Regions from separate parts of the Homo sapiens genome. Here all the other regions are linked to region 1. Evidence: promoter capture Hi-C in 16 types of primary human blood cells and fetal thymus (Javierre and others, 2016). All regions are on one chromosome and are shown on one strand. Each heading gives the region's core, a stretch centred on a gene start or on the middle of the fragment in contact. The rest is flanking DNA. Distances are from core to core; before and after follow the strand shown.

Evidence for each region. The method cuts DNA at HindIII sites, captures the fragments that hold promoters and counts their contacts. A CHiCAGO score of 5 or more calls a contact.
Region 2: a contact is called between the fragment with the promoter of NECTIN3-AS1 here and a fragment that was not itself captured in region 1, in 1 of 17 cell types (naive CD8 T cells). The highest score is 6.9, in naive CD8 T cells.
Region 3: the fragment with the promoter of ABHD10 here is called in contact with a fragment that was not itself captured in region 1 in 1 of 17 cell types (total B cells); the score reaches 7.0 in total B cells.

Annotation. Positions count from the first base shown.
Region 1 is chr3:109,023,254-109,025,953 of GRCh38, reverse strand. The region is part of intron 17 of MORC1 (MORC family CW-type zinc finger 1); the gene reads left to right. Among named protein-coding and RNA genes, the nearest start is that of GUCA1C, 71 kb to the right of the region's middle. The HindIII fragment of the contact is 1,348 bases long and covers 764-2,111 here.
Region 2 is chr3:111,068,573-111,071,272 of GRCh38, reverse strand. NECTIN3-AS1 (NECTIN3 antisense RNA 1) reads left to right here and starts at 1,314. Exons shown (of 4, transcript NR_045114.1): 1 at 1,314-1,483; 2 at 1,802-2,009. It overlaps LOC151760 (putative uncharacterized protein LOC151760), which reads left to right. Exons shown (of 4, transcript XR_007096272.1): 2 at 1,802-2,009. The HindIII fragment of the contact is 1,000 bases long and covers 1,109-2,108 here.
Region 3 is chr3:111,977,655-111,980,354 of GRCh38, reverse strand. ABHD10 (abhydrolase domain containing 10, depalmitoylase) reads right to left here and starts at 1,329. Exons shown (of 5, transcript NM_018394.4): 1 at 1,152-1,329. The coding sequence starts at 1,293. RefSeq lists enhancers at 1,090-1,139, 1,160-1,209, 1,220-1,269, 1,128-1,687. The HindIII fragment of the contact is 3,690 bases long and covers 25-2,700 here.

The DNA of each region.
Region 1 (2,700 bases), core at 188-2,687:
TGTTGGTTTTACTTACTGTGAATCTGTATTAACCAAAACAGTGCCTGGCATATACCAGGTACTCAATAGGTAGTTGAATCAATAAGTAAAACATGCCGTCAGATATTATACAGTCTTTTTGTGGATCAAGTCTAACAGCTATTTAAAAATGAGCAACCACTATAAAGTAATATTAATTCACATGTGTTTTCTTATTGTAACTGACACTGCAATAGAAGTTTACTGCAGGAGATAGTGAGGGCAGCTTCAATCAAAGAAAGTTATATAGGGGTGTTGGGCATGGTGGCTCACACCTGTAATCCCAGCACTTTGGGAGGCTGAGATGGGCAGATCACTTGAGGTCAGGAGTTTGAGACCAGCCTGGCCAACATGGTGAAACATCATCTCTACAGAAAATACAAAAAATTAGCTGGGTGTGGTGGCTCACGCCTGTAATCCCAGCTACTTCAGAGGCTGAGGTGGGAGAATCCTTTGAACCTGGGAGGCAGAAGTTGCAGTGAGCCCACGCCACTGCATTCCAGCCTGGGGGAAAGATGAGACTCTGTCTCAAAAAAAAAAAAAAAAAAAAAAAAAAGAAAAAAGAAAAAGAAACCAAAGAAAGTTATATAGGGGAAGTGATACTTGTATCTTGAAGTCTATTTAGGATAAATAGAGGGAAAAGGATAGGGCATTTCAGGTGAGAAAAACAACCTAAAGGAACACTTGGAGCTGAACACTGATTTGTTCTTTCATGGAACCAGTCACTTAAATTACATGTTAAGCTTTCATATTTTAAAAATTAAACTCAGTATTTGTGTGGCATCTCTCTTTTAAAAATGGTGTGACTTGTTACAATGATGCAACTCCCATATAGTTATAATATGGTAATTACTGAACAGAAGACCTCTGAAAGATGACCTTGATTCCTCCTTTCACAAAAATAATCCATGAACATGTTCAGAAACTATGTTTTGGTGATATTTATCTGATGTCAAAACTAAGACTAAAAACCATGCAATGTTCAGTGTAAATTTCCTGTCCTCATTCTAAAACCCTTTAGAAGTAGTTTTGGAATGTGAGATAAGAAAGGATGGGAAAGCTAGAAAAACAGGCCATCATTGGCCCCATTCAGTTTCAAATATAGGCTAGACATCACTGAAAAAATCAAGAACTGGCTAGTTTATTACTATGATTCACTGTATGTCTATTTTTGGTGTCCATTCACCCATTCAGTATCACAGAATCATACAATATATGCCATGTAATTATTATTTGCCCACCTCCTGTTTTCTCTTCCTCCATCCCACTCCCAATGACCACTTATCCATTGACCAGACCTGTGTAGTGAATATAAAAATGACCTAAACCTGCACACCCTATCTCTTAACTCTCTTGCATTTCAGCTTTAATGGTAGCAGGCATCTTGATCTGGAAAATGAAAGGTTGACCAGGTAAATCAAAAATCTTTCTGGATTTTAGGTTCTATGGGTATCTAATGATTAGATGGTAAGAGAGTTATCCTAATTATTAGATGTTGTCCCATAGGAGAAAATGAAGTAGCTAGATCTAAAGGTATCGTTTCCACATGGTATCTTATTTAATTCCTACAACATTCCAGCTAGTTATATCTATTTTAACAAAGAGGAAAGTGAAATCCAAAAAAGTTAAAAATAATTTTAATCAAAGCACGTAACTTTAAATGGTGAAGTTGGAATTTATTTCCTTTTTGCCCAATTCCAGCACCATATTTCTCGCAGTCTTATAGGAAAAATACAGACAAAAAGGACATAAGAACATTTACAGTAGCAACAAACTTATATATTGCAAATCATATTTGTTAAGGGAAATACCTAAGTTCAGTAAACCTAATAGGAGAGCTCAAATTCAAGATCTGTCACCTGTGGTGCATTTTATAGACTAAAGGGGTTGTCCTCCATGTAATTGATAAGCTATGTCAACAAGCCAAGATCCTTGTTATAAATTGTGCTTCTGAATACAACCCATCCCCATCTTTATCCTTTTGAATAGATGAATAAGTAATCTGTTTCTAACTACTTTCAGCTTCATTCCACATTACCTGCTGTTTTCTATACCGAGTGACAAGTGCCACCTGCTGGCCAAGTGATGAAGCTTTTATTTCTATTGTTTCACTGGATTGCTCAGTTGTAATTGGCATATTAGCTGGATAATTGTTATTTTTTGGTAAACCTAGGCAATAATTTAAAAACCATAATGTTATAAAATAAATTTCTCTGTATTTCAGGACCTCTCCGTTCTCAAATTTGCCTCTTTCTCAGATTTAACTTAAAATTTCTCTTCTACCTTCTATTGTGTGACAAGGATGATTGTGTCATTATCATGCACACAGAATCTAGTTTTAGTTACACTTTATTCAGGATTTTATGGTACCATCTAAAATCCACTTAATACCCTCAATCATTAAAAGACAGATCATACCTTTCTCCCTGAATTAAGCTACCCTATATTTACCCCTTTATACCTAAGTAATGTTAATGAGTAGTGTATTTGCATAATCAATATATTTCTGCAATGTGTGATGAATTGCTTATGTGTCCCCTAGGTCTTTCTGAATTAATCTTTTGTATTTACTATACATTTCTTGGCCTACAGCCCAGGCTGTCTATAATCTGACACTAGTTGCCTTTCTATTAATATAATAGCATTCGTTTCTTTCACTCTGTATGGTGCTGCTACTGAGCT
Region 2 (2,700 bases), core at 65-2,564, 2.0 Mb before region 1:
GGGGGCTGCCCTTCCGTTGCCCATGCTAAAGGTTCCTGTGTAGGAAGCTGGACGCAGCCTGCTGGACTAGTAATCTTCCTCCTCGCTGGGGCGCGGGGCACTGAAGGGAGGGAGAGACTTTCTCCTCCTTCCTGTTCCCCGGGACAGCTGTGCTCTCCGAATCCTTCCCTTCTTCCCAGCCCACTTATTCCCCGCTCGCCAAGGCACGTTTGCACAGGCATTTTTCCTGCTCTTTTTTCTGGGAGGGCAGCTTGGTAGAATGGTCGGCGGAGCTGGGCGAGGAGAGGGGTCTTCAGAAGGTTTGCTTTCTTGCTCTTGCTTCTCACTGGCCGCTGGGCTGTCCACTTTCCGCGCCGGGCGACTGGCAACAGGAGGCCATGGATTTCCCCCAACGAGTGCGTTGGTGTTTTTCTTTGGTTTTGTTTCCTTTGCATGTTCGTATGTGTAGTTTTATTTTCTTGCCTGTTTTCGTTTGATGGCAGAGAGGCGACCTCGGGAAGTATTAAACATTTGCCCGTATAAGAAGAGCGTCTGTGGTCCACCATGACCCTCGCTCATCCCAGGTGGCTCTCCGCCCTGCCCTCTCCATCCTCCCGCCTCGCACAGTACCGGCAGCTTGACCTTGGAGCCACTGCCACATTGGTTCCGCGGGGGGAGTAGGAGGGTGGACAATTTGGACTGTCCAGCGTAGGGGGTGAATTGAAGGCAGAGGACACCAGTCCTCAGGCCTGACACTATTAATTTTATGTAGGTCCTGTCATCTCCACGAGATAGCCATAAATGTGTTCCAGTAACAGGAAAGCTGAACAAGGATCAGCCGCCCAGAAGTTAGCCTGTCGCAGCTAAACTAATGCATGCTTGCGGCCAAGACCACGCTGTCCTCGGCTTTCAGTCAATAGGGTCTTCCCACCTTCCGCCCGCTGGATTACAAGGCTTTACTAACCTCCAAGGCTACAAGCCATTCTACACCCTGCCCACCTCTTTTTTCTTTCTTAACTTCTGCCTCCCTTCCAGTCTCCCAGCGCTCGGTCTAGTGCCTTTTTCCCTCCAGCCCTTTCCTCTTCCCTCCCTCCCTGTGCCTGTCTGCCTCTGTCGTCCCCTGTAAGCTTGTCTCCTGCAGCCAAGGCTTTCTATCACCTATTCTCAAGATGCACTTATGAATAAACCTTGTCCTGCATCGCTCCGGGAGATCCCCTGATGATGATCATAATTGACAAAATGTAGCTATTGTGACATTCCTCAGCTGTGCTGACACCACCGTTTCCCTTGAGAAAATTTCTTTTTCTATATTCGCATTCCCTAAACCTAATTTCACTGCTAAATTTAGACAGCTCACTGCGCAGCCACTAGCTAATTATCTGTTTAGATAGCACTTTAACACGTTGTTGAGACTCAGTTAAATGTTAAACAACCAAAATTTTAATATCACTAGCCAATTTCATTCTTCCAGGTTTTCCCTGATGGCTCCACATCTCCAAGAAAAGTAATTTAGCCAACATTTCAAAAAATACCAAAGGCTTAACTTGGGTAGGGGCCATCGGGCAATTGCTACAGAGACCATAAGGAATTAGCAGGTTAAGTTCGTCTCAAAAAGATGACATGGAGCTTTAACAAATATATTTCCTCCATACTTACAGAAATTGAATAGTGGTCTGCTATGATATTCTCTGACCTAAAGTGAAGAGAGAGCATGGAAGAGCATTATTTATAGATGTTATATAAGCATTAAAAGAGCACCATGCTGGTGTTTTATGTGCATATATGTATTATATTCTAATAATAATAATTTGTGTTTATACAGCATCTTCAACTAAAGATGTCAAAGCACAAGCTCACTTCCCACGGAAGGTAGCAATTACTATTATCTACTTGACAGCTACAAGAACCTAGGCACAGAGGTTAAGTGCTCTGCAAATACTACCAGCCAGTGGTGGTTTTCCTGCCAGAACCAAGTTCTTGCCTTCCAGTGGACACCATTGATCTCTCAAGATGATTCTTTAAGTTAAAAAGTAAGATAACTCAAATTTCTACTTTCTATAATAAAAGTGCCCAATCTTAAATTACATTCTCCTCAGATGAGTGAATTTTAGACATACTCACCCCAAGCTTTCCTGTTGGAAATTTTTACTGGCCACAGAAAAAGATTTTACATTACATATACAACTCATGTTTTTCAAGGGCAGAAATACTATTAATTTTTTTAAAACCTTTAGCATGAGAGTATTAGTGCGTTCTATGCCATTTTTAGTCTTCTAACTTTATACATAAGTTCACATTTATTGTTTGAATAACAAACTGTTTAAGGAATACTTAATTATAGCTAACTTATTAATATTTCTGACACCATTGAATAACAAAGTATACATGCATTTTTTCAGAAAAAAATTATCTGAACAGAAAGCAATGTAATCCTAATGCCAACAATAGTTTCATTGTTTTGGGTTAAGAGTACTGATGGTGTCCATCCTACTTTCGGCTCAAAGATTGTTTGCCAATTATCAAGGTTCATTAACTCTTAACTAAAAAACAAAGGTTGACATCTTAACAAAGAAGTAATTATGTACAGTGCTGGGCATTTTACATTTACTCAAATAATCCAAGTGAAAAGTTTGAGACTATTATTAGAATTTCATAGCTGACTCTGAAACAAAGGAGGTATTTTACAGGAGAGGTAAGACATTATATACTTCAGCTAATTCT
Region 3 (2,700 bases), core at 80-2,579, 3.0 Mb before region 1:
AGTTATCCTTTTTACATAAAAGCTTGTTTCAAAGTATAGAGAAATATGCCAAATTTAAAACTTTTGGTAAGGACCAGTTATGCTGATCCACTCATGTTCATTTCCCATCTACTCAGCTGAGCACTAAAAAAAATTCTCACTATCCTCTTCCAGAAATCACCTCTTAAAACATAATTTCCCCGAGATGATTATAATTTATTTAATGTAAGTTCTAAGTAGACAGATTCATATAATTATATTCATAAATCATCTTTGAACATAAGGATTAATTCAAAGCCTGGTGCATAAGTGCTCAATGAATAAGTGCTAACTAGATGAAATAATATTATACTCTGGTTAATGAATTGACATACTACATTTTACTAGGAGTATTTGCATGTGTAACATGCCTTTTGGTTGCGCACAATTAAATGCAAGTTAATCTGATTATAAAAGTTTAAAAACTGGATACAAAAATCTCCATACAAAAGATCTCTGCCGTGACATTAATTACCACTCCAAGCACCATGCATCATCTGACAGCTACGTGGCAATGGTGTGAACCACACACAAAGCCAAAAAAATAAAAGGATCTAATTCAAAGACTATATATACATATAAGAGGTTCTCTGATTTTTAGCCCAAATTCTAGTTTCCTTTGTGCAATAATGATTATGGTTCTTTCACTGAGTGGGTGCAGCAAGAAAGCAGAACTAGAAATTAGGCTTATGAGGGCGTCTACACTTTTACAAAGAACATGCCTCGCATTGTTAGGTTCCCTAAACTCAAAGGAGAGTCAGTCTAAGCATTTTAGGAGTCACAATCTACAAATTCCTAGAAGTAACTAATAATAATGCATTAAATGCACATTTTAATTTTTTCTAGTGTTGGCCTTTAATGCAGGGGAGGCAGGTAAGGAGCAGGAGCTCTTTAAACTGCACAGTGTAAAACGCCAGCGAGGGCCCGGGGTGCCCAGAATGCCGCAGGGCCGCGGCAGAGCTCTCCTCACAGCCTTCACCAGAAGTCTACAAAGCGCCTAGAACTGGGGTGTTGAGAAAGGGGGAGGAGCATTTTTGAACCGGGCGCCAAAGACGCACTGCACAGGCACGGTAACTGACGGAACCCGAGGCGTTCGAAAGAACGCATCCTACTCCCGCCTTTCGGACACTGACCTGGGAGCCACCGTGGCGCCCGCTGAGGTATCCGTGCAAGCAGCACGCTGAGGCCACGGTGGGGACCGAAGGGGACGGCTGCCCAGCCCCAGCTCCGACAAGGTACCCAGGCCGCCACAGCTGCCAAGCGCGCAACCGCCATCTTCGTAGTTGTCCCCGCACCCTGCAGTGTCCCACTGAGGGACACGCTACGCAACGGAACCGAGGCTGCGCATGCGCTTCAGGCTGGAAGGCGGAACTTGCTAAAGAGCTCCCCGCAAGATTTTCAGCTTGCGAAGAGCGCACATGCGCAGAGCGTCGTGGCTCTTTCGTTTAGACTGTTGGTTCTACTAGTAGCGGGGTTTGGCTTGGGGCCTTTAAGATGTTTTGAGTGGCGTCGGGAGGCTGCCCTATCAGCGGGCTGATAGATACTACAGAGCTGGAAGCTCAGAAAGGAACCCTATCCAACGGTCCTAGATGGGAAACGTCTCCTGTCGAGGACACCAGGCTTGCTGCATCACCTGCAATCCCGCCGACCGCGTGACAGTTTTAACCTGTACTGGAAATGCTCCCAAGATCTGACATTAATCTCGCCTGTATAACCTGGAATGGTATCGGACATTCCCCGCTCTAGATCTATATGCCTGATTAACGAAATACTGAATTATCTTGGCCCCCTCCTCGTGCTATATGCGAAAATAAATTTCAGTAAAAAAAGATTTCAACGGAAGAATACAACTGAGAGGATTAAATAAATTTTAGGAGAATATTATATAATCCGGGGACAGAAGGGACTTTCTTAACCAAGATTTCAAAACCCCAACATCATAAATAAAAAATATATTTGTATACGAATTTAAACTTTTTGAATGGCAAAAGACACCTCAAGTTAAGAGCTTAGAAAAATGGATTTTGTAGCATAGATACATTAATACTTCTACTCAGCCTGCTCCTATAAATAAGAAATATAATTCAAATAAAATTGGCCAACAGCTATAAATAGGCAGCCCATATAAGGAAACATGATGCTCAAACTCACTAAATGAAAAACTGGAATTAAAAAAATAATGCCTTTTTCCCCCCATTCAGTTGGCAAAAAAGAAAAATAATTGGCAAGGATGCTAGACACTAGCACTTATGTATGATTGCTAGGAAGGTGAATTACTAAAATTTGTTGTGAAGTAATATGGCCACATCTATTACAATTTTAAAATATGCATCCATTCCAGTGCCTTTTAACGCAGTGGCACCAATTTGTGATTATCCTATAGAAAAACAACACTAGTTCTTAAGACTGCATATTATCTACTACACCGTTTTTAGAGGCAAAGAGAAGGAAAAAAATGGGAATGGCTAACAATAGAAAAATAGTTGAATAAATTGTAGTACAAGGGTTTCCGGACTCCAGCTCTAAATACCTTTCAAACTAATTCCTGGGGGCCTCAAGCATCAACCATGGAGTTTTACGTAGTAGTTTCCTATTTAAAAGTTATGGTGGCTTGTGTAATACTTTGAGTATATATAAGATAGTAAAGTAACTTTTATTATCCTGGTTATAAATTTGGGGGGC